Regions from separate parts of the Homo sapiens genome. Here region 1 is linked to region 2. The links are contacts of gene promoters, found by promoter capture Hi-C in blood cells and fetal thymus (Javierre and others, 2016). All regions are on one chromosome and are shown on one strand. Each heading gives the region's core, a stretch centred on a gene start or on the middle of the fragment in contact. The rest is flanking DNA. Distances are from core to core; before and after follow the strand shown.

Region 1 (3,010 bases), core at 496-2,995, 200 kb before region 2:
TTTTAGCTTTGCTCCGTTCTTCTCACCTTCTAGAAAAGATAGAATTGGTTACACTCGTGGTGGGCAAAGGACATGACCAAACACTTTTCAAAAGAAAATATACATCTGGCCAAGAATCATATAAAAAAGCTCAACATCACTAATCATTAGTGAAACGCAAATCAAAACCACCATGAGATACCATCTCACATCAGTCAGAATGGCTATTATTAAAAAGTCAAAAAACAACATGCTGGCGAGGTTGCAGAGAAAAAGGAATGCTTACACACTGTTGGTGGGAGTGTTAATTAGCATGTAAGACAGTGTGGCAATTCCTCAAAGACCTAAAAACAGAACTACCATTCAACCTAACAAGCCCATTACTGGGTATACACCCAAAGAAATATAAATTGTTCTATCATAAAGACACATGCACACTTATATTCATTGCAGCACTATTCACAATAGCAAAGACATAGGATCAACCTAAATGTCCATCAATGGTAGACTGGATTAAAAAAATGTGGTACATATACACTATGGAATACTATGCAGCCATAAAAAAGAATGAAATCATGCCCTTTGCAGGAACAAGAATGGAGCTGAAGGTCATTATCCTTAGCAAACTAATGCAGAAAGAGAAAACTAAATACCGCATGTTCTCCCTTATAAGTGGAATCTAAATGATGAGAACACAAATACATAAAGGGGAACAACACACACTGGAGCCTATCAGAGGGTAGAGTGTGGGAGGAGGGAGAGGATCAGGAAAAATAGCTAAGGGGTACTAGGCTTAATACCTGGGTGATGAAATTATATGTACAACAAACCCCCATGATATAAATTTACCTCTATAAGAAACCTGCACACATACCCCTGAACTTAAAATCAAAAGTTTGAAAAAAAAGAATTGGTTACACTTTTTGATAGCACCCAACCCAAAGCAAATCCCCACTTCTTTGAATCCTTCCCACAATCATACAACACAGCCCAAATTCTGTTAGTCTTCTCTGACACCTTCCTGAGACACCACACCATTCCCCATGGTGTACATCTGCCCTCACTGCAGCAAGTCAAAAAACCTAACTTTGTTCATAGGTGCATGCCTGATTGTCTTTGGCTGATGGGTATTCACATAGCAAACCTGTTCCCACCTCAAGACCTTTGCATGTGCGGTGTGCTTAGTTCAGACCTTGCTTTCTCTGGATTTTTTTTTTTTTTTTTTTTTTTTTTTGAGACAGAGTCTCACTCTGTCACCCAGGCTAGAATGCAGTGGCACAATCTCAGCTCACTACAACCTCCACCTCCCAGGTTGAAGCAATTCTCCTGTCTCAGCCTTCTGAGTAGCTGGGATTATAGGCGTGCACCACCACACCTGGATAATTTTTGTATCTTTAGTAGAGATGGGGTTTCACCATGTTGGCCAGGCTGGTCTTGAACTCATGATCTCAGGTGCTCCACTTGCCTCAGCCTCCCAAAGTGCTGGGATCACAGGCATGAGCCGCTGTGTGAATCTTCATAACCATCTTATATAGGTCTGCTCAAATGTCACTTCTTCAGAGAAGCCTTCTCTTCTCACCTACCTCTCTCCCCACAGGCTGGGCATGGTGTCCCACACCTGTAATCCCAGTACTTTGGGAGGCTGAGACAGGAGGATAGTTTGAGGCTGTAAGTTTAAGACAAGCCTCTACATGGTGTATACATTTTCTTTATCCAGTCTACCATCTCTACCAAAAATTTTAAAAATTAGCTAGGCATGGTGGCACGTCCCTGTAGTCCTAGCTACTTAGGAGGCTGAGACAGGAGAATCACTTGAACCCAGGAGTTTCAGGCTGCAGTGAGCTATGATTACACCACTGCACTCCAGCCTGGGTGACAGAATGAGACCCTGTCTCAAAACAAATGAATAAATAAAAATAAAATAGTCTCTATATTAGTTGGCTAGGGCTGCCATAACAAACACCAGAGACTGGGTGGTTTAAACAACAGAAATTTATTTCTTCGCAATTCTGTAAGCTAGAAGTCCAAAATCAAGGTGTTGGCAGGTTTGGTTTCATTCTGAGGCCTTTCTTCTTGGTGTGCAGATGGTTCCCTTTTCACTATGTCCTCACATGGTCATCCCTCTGCCTGGGTTCTAATTCCCTCATCTTTTAAGGGCACTAGTCATATTGGATTAGAACCCACTCTAACAACCCTATTTTAACTTAATTACCTCTTTAAAAGCCCTGTTTCCCAATACAGTCATATTCTGAGGTATTGGGGGTCAGTGTTTCAACATATGAACTTGTGGGGTCATAATTCATCCCCTAATAGTCTCCATCCCCAATCTCTCTTTGCGCCTTCTTTTTTTCTTCAAAGCATTTACCATGACCTGATGTTTTATTAGTCATTTATTTGTTTACCATCTGTGTATTAGTCTATTTGCTTGCTACTATGAAGAAATATCTGAGACTGGGTAATTTCTAAAGAAAAAGATGTTTAATGGACTCAGAGCTGCACATGGCTGGGGAGGCCTCATAATCATGGCAGAAGGCAAAGGAGGAGCAAAGGCGTGTCTTACATGGCGGCAGGCAAGCAACTGTGTGTAGGGGAACTGCCCTTTATAAAACCATCAGATCTCACCAGGCATGGTGGCTCATGCCTGTAATCCCAGCACTTTGGGAGGCCGAGGCAGGTGGATCATTTGAGGTCAGGAGCTCAAGACCAGCCTGGCCAACATGGTGAAACCCCCTCTCTACTAAAAATATGAAAATTAGCTGGGCATGGTGGTGCACATCTGTAATTCCAGCTACTCAGGAGGCTGAGGCACAAGAATCGCTTGAACCAGGGAGGCAGAGGTTGCTGTCAGCTGAGATCGTGCCACTGCACTTCAGCCTGGGCAGCAGCAGAGTGAGACTCTCCCTCAAAAAAAAAAAAAAAAAAAAAAGAAAGAAAGAAAGAAAGAAAAAAACCATCAGATCTTGTGAGACTTATTCACTATCATGAGAATAGCATGGGAAAAACCTGCTCTCATGATTCAATTACCTCCCAT
Region 2 (2,907 bases), core at 408-2,907:
CAGAAAGAACAGGACGCCCCTCCATGCGCCCCTCCAGCTGGGTCCCATGTGTGAGAGGTAGAAAGGAAGCCAGGCTAGCTGGGGGCTGCCCAGAGACTCCCAAGGGCCAGCAACTCCATGACGCAGTCTCTCTCTCTCATCCTTATGGTGGTTTCTCTGCCGTCTCTCCCCTCTCCATCCATCCAGGCCCAGTCCAAAGTCCTCCCTCTGCTCTTTTGCCCACAGAGCCAGGAGGTGGAGGAATGTCTGGGATCGGTGGGGGTCCTGGGTCTCTGGGACTCCGAGTTTGCCAACCTCTGTCATGACAGCTCTGCTTGATGGCATGCGTCTTATATGCAGAGCCCCAGACCAGTGCCTGGTGTGTGTCATGCACTCAGCAACCTCACAGAGGGAGGACTGGTATCCATGCTTGACCCAGAGGGAGACCAAAGCCCTAAGAATAATGTCACTTGCACCAGATCACACAGCAAAAAAGATGGCAAGAGCAAATTCAAATGCAAGCCTGTGTGTTTCACTCCAAATCTGTGTCCTTAACCATGACAGCTACAGCTTCCCCGCCTCAGCCCCAGCAGAGGACAAGTCCAGAGTTAGCTGAGAAATCACTGGGGGATGAGGGGAAACTGAGGCAGCACGCCAGGAAGGTCACATAGGGTAGAAGGGAGGCTGGTGGTGGCACAGCTGCACAGAAAATGTGGTTAATAGTTAATCAGGTGGAGGAGGACTAACAGGGGTGGGGATGCATCTGGGAGGGGTGCCCAGAGAGAGGGGGCTCCGAAGAGTAGAGGGTAGAGAAAAGAGCACAGAGGGCGGGGCGCCAGGCAGAGCCAAAGCTGGGGCTCAGGGAAGGGGACTCACCCTCCTTCTGCGCCATGTCACTGCCTCTTGTTAATGATTCCCTGGCTGACCTCCTGGGCCAGGGTGGGACCTGTGAGGAGATGGACGGGGAGGCAGGGCCTGGGGGAGCCCAGCCCAGCCCAGTCCTGGCGCCCCCAGTCCCAGGCGTCCATCCAGGCAGGCTGTAGGGACTGGGCCTTGGCCAGAGCACGCCGTGATCACGGACGCAGATTGGGCTGGGTTCAAGGATGGGGTCAGTGTCTGACCAGCAGCGGGGGGACGCCTGGATTTGCAGGGATGGGGACCCCCATGCCTGAGCCTGGTGGAGCAGGGGACTGAGGATCCCGGTTTGAGGGAGGAGACAGCTGAGGACCTGAAATCATAAGTCTTGGGAAAGGAGGAATTTGGGGGCCAGGACTCCCTAGTATGAGGGAGGAGGGGCCTGAGGGCTGGAACTCCTGGGTCTGGGGAGGAAAGGACTGGGGTCCAACGGCTGAGTCTGAAGGAAGAGCAGGACAGAACACCTAGGTGCTTGGGGGGACGTCATAGTGCCCCCTCTTCAGGTCCCCAGGAACCCCTCTATTAGGAGGTGGGCATTAGGCTGGGTGGGGGGATGAGGGAACCCCTGTCCTCAGGGCTGGAACTGTGAGTCTGGGGGCCCTTGTCCTTACCCTGGGGTCCAGCAGGTGGGGGCGGAGCCTCGAGGTAGTGCCGGGGTCGGGTCAGTCTCCAGGCCTGGGCAGGAGCATGGTGGCCCCGCAGCAGCGGGCGGCCTGGAGGCAGAGGCGGTGGCGTGGGGCCTGCTAGGCCAGGCTGCCTCACCTGAGGAGGAGGGGGCTGGGCGAGGGGCGGGTGAAGGGGCGGGGAGGGGCCGGACCATTCGATTGGCAGCACTGGAGGCCACCTGGCTGATGGGGCCGGGCTTGTGGGGGCTGGACCAGGCGGGCCCAGCTACGGGGCTTGCCTTGGACCTCCAGGGGGACCCAGGTGTGCCTGTCTGCGGGGATGTGGGAACAGGGACAGGCCTGGCCGGAGGCTGGGGGTTTAGGGAGAAAGTGCAGGCTGAAGGGTGGGGGTCTGACCAGAAGAGATCAGATGGAGGGCCCCAGCTGCCCTAAGCCCACTCCACCCTCACCCAGCGAACCCTTCCCCCCGCCCTTTCTGCGTCCTCCAGCCCCAGGTCCTGGCTGTGCCCGCCACTTGCTGCACCTCTGCCTAATTCCCTGCCCAATTCCTGGGCCCCAACCCCAGCCCCAGCCTCTCCCGCCTGCCCTGCTCATCCTGCCCCGGCCCCTCCCCCGCTGGCTTCCTACAAGTCACGGGGCTGGTTTGCTTTGGCAGCCTCCGCCCGGCCGCGGTGACCTCTGGAGCCAGAAAGTCCTAGCACTAGATAGGGGGGATGGGGGGCTTGGCCGGGAAAACACAGCGCTAAGGGCAGAGGCCCAGGCCAAGTGGCCGGAAGCGTCCGCAGGCAGATAACACACTGTCCCGCCAGCAGCCAGGCGCGGCCCACGTCAGACCCAGGGCCAGGTAAACACCAGACGTGCAGGGTCACCGCCAGACACCTGCCCGTGCTCAACCACACGCCGGACACAGTCGGCCTCGGCTGCTTGCCCCAGATAGGCCACCCGCACAACCGGCCCCACCCGCTTACCCACACGTGCCCGCTGTGCCCAGCCAAACCCACCTCCACCGCACCCATTTCCTCCACTCAGCCCAGGGCCCCTCATTGGGACACGCTGGTTTAGCCTGGCTTCCTCTGCCTTTCCATCCATACCCGTCTCTCCTTCCCTCTCCTTCTCCCCAGCGCCCACCTCTCCAGAGACTCACACTGCTGGGCACACCACACACCCCATGCCACCCCTGCACCCCAGCATCAGCCTCGATTCTCTTCCCTCCACGGCACCCCCTCCCTTCCTGGCTCCGTTCCACTCTCCCTCACCCCTGAGCCCATGGCTCCCCCAACCCCGACACAGATCAGGCACTAAGTGGCTTCACCTGTGGGCCCTCAGGTAGGGTCCCTGGAAAGCGGGCTCGAAGATTCGGGGACGGGAATGGGGGGAAGGTGACGGG

What was found. Contacts are between HindIII fragments. The CHiCAGO score rates a contact against its expected background, and 5 or more counts as called.
Region 1: a fragment that was not itself captured here is called in contact with the fragment with the promoter of HPN in region 2 in 3 of 17 cell types (total B cells, naive CD4 T cells and naive B cells); the score reaches 6.5 in total B cells.

What each region holds. Positions count from the first base shown.
Region 1 is chr19:35,237,319-35,240,328 of GRCh38, reverse strand. No RefSeq gene overlaps it. Among named protein-coding and RNA genes, the nearest start is that of FAM187B, 10 kb to the right of the region's middle. The HindIII fragment of the contact is 5,085 bases long and covers 1-3,010 here.
Region 2 is chr19:35,040,471-35,043,377 of GRCh38, reverse strand. HPN (hepsin) reads right to left here and starts at 1,657. Exons shown (of 13, transcript NM_001384133.1): 1 at 1,506-1,657; 2 at 856-925. The coding sequence starts at 871. RefSeq lists an enhancer at 2,186-2,907. The HindIII fragment of the contact is 15,827 bases long and covers 1-2,907 here.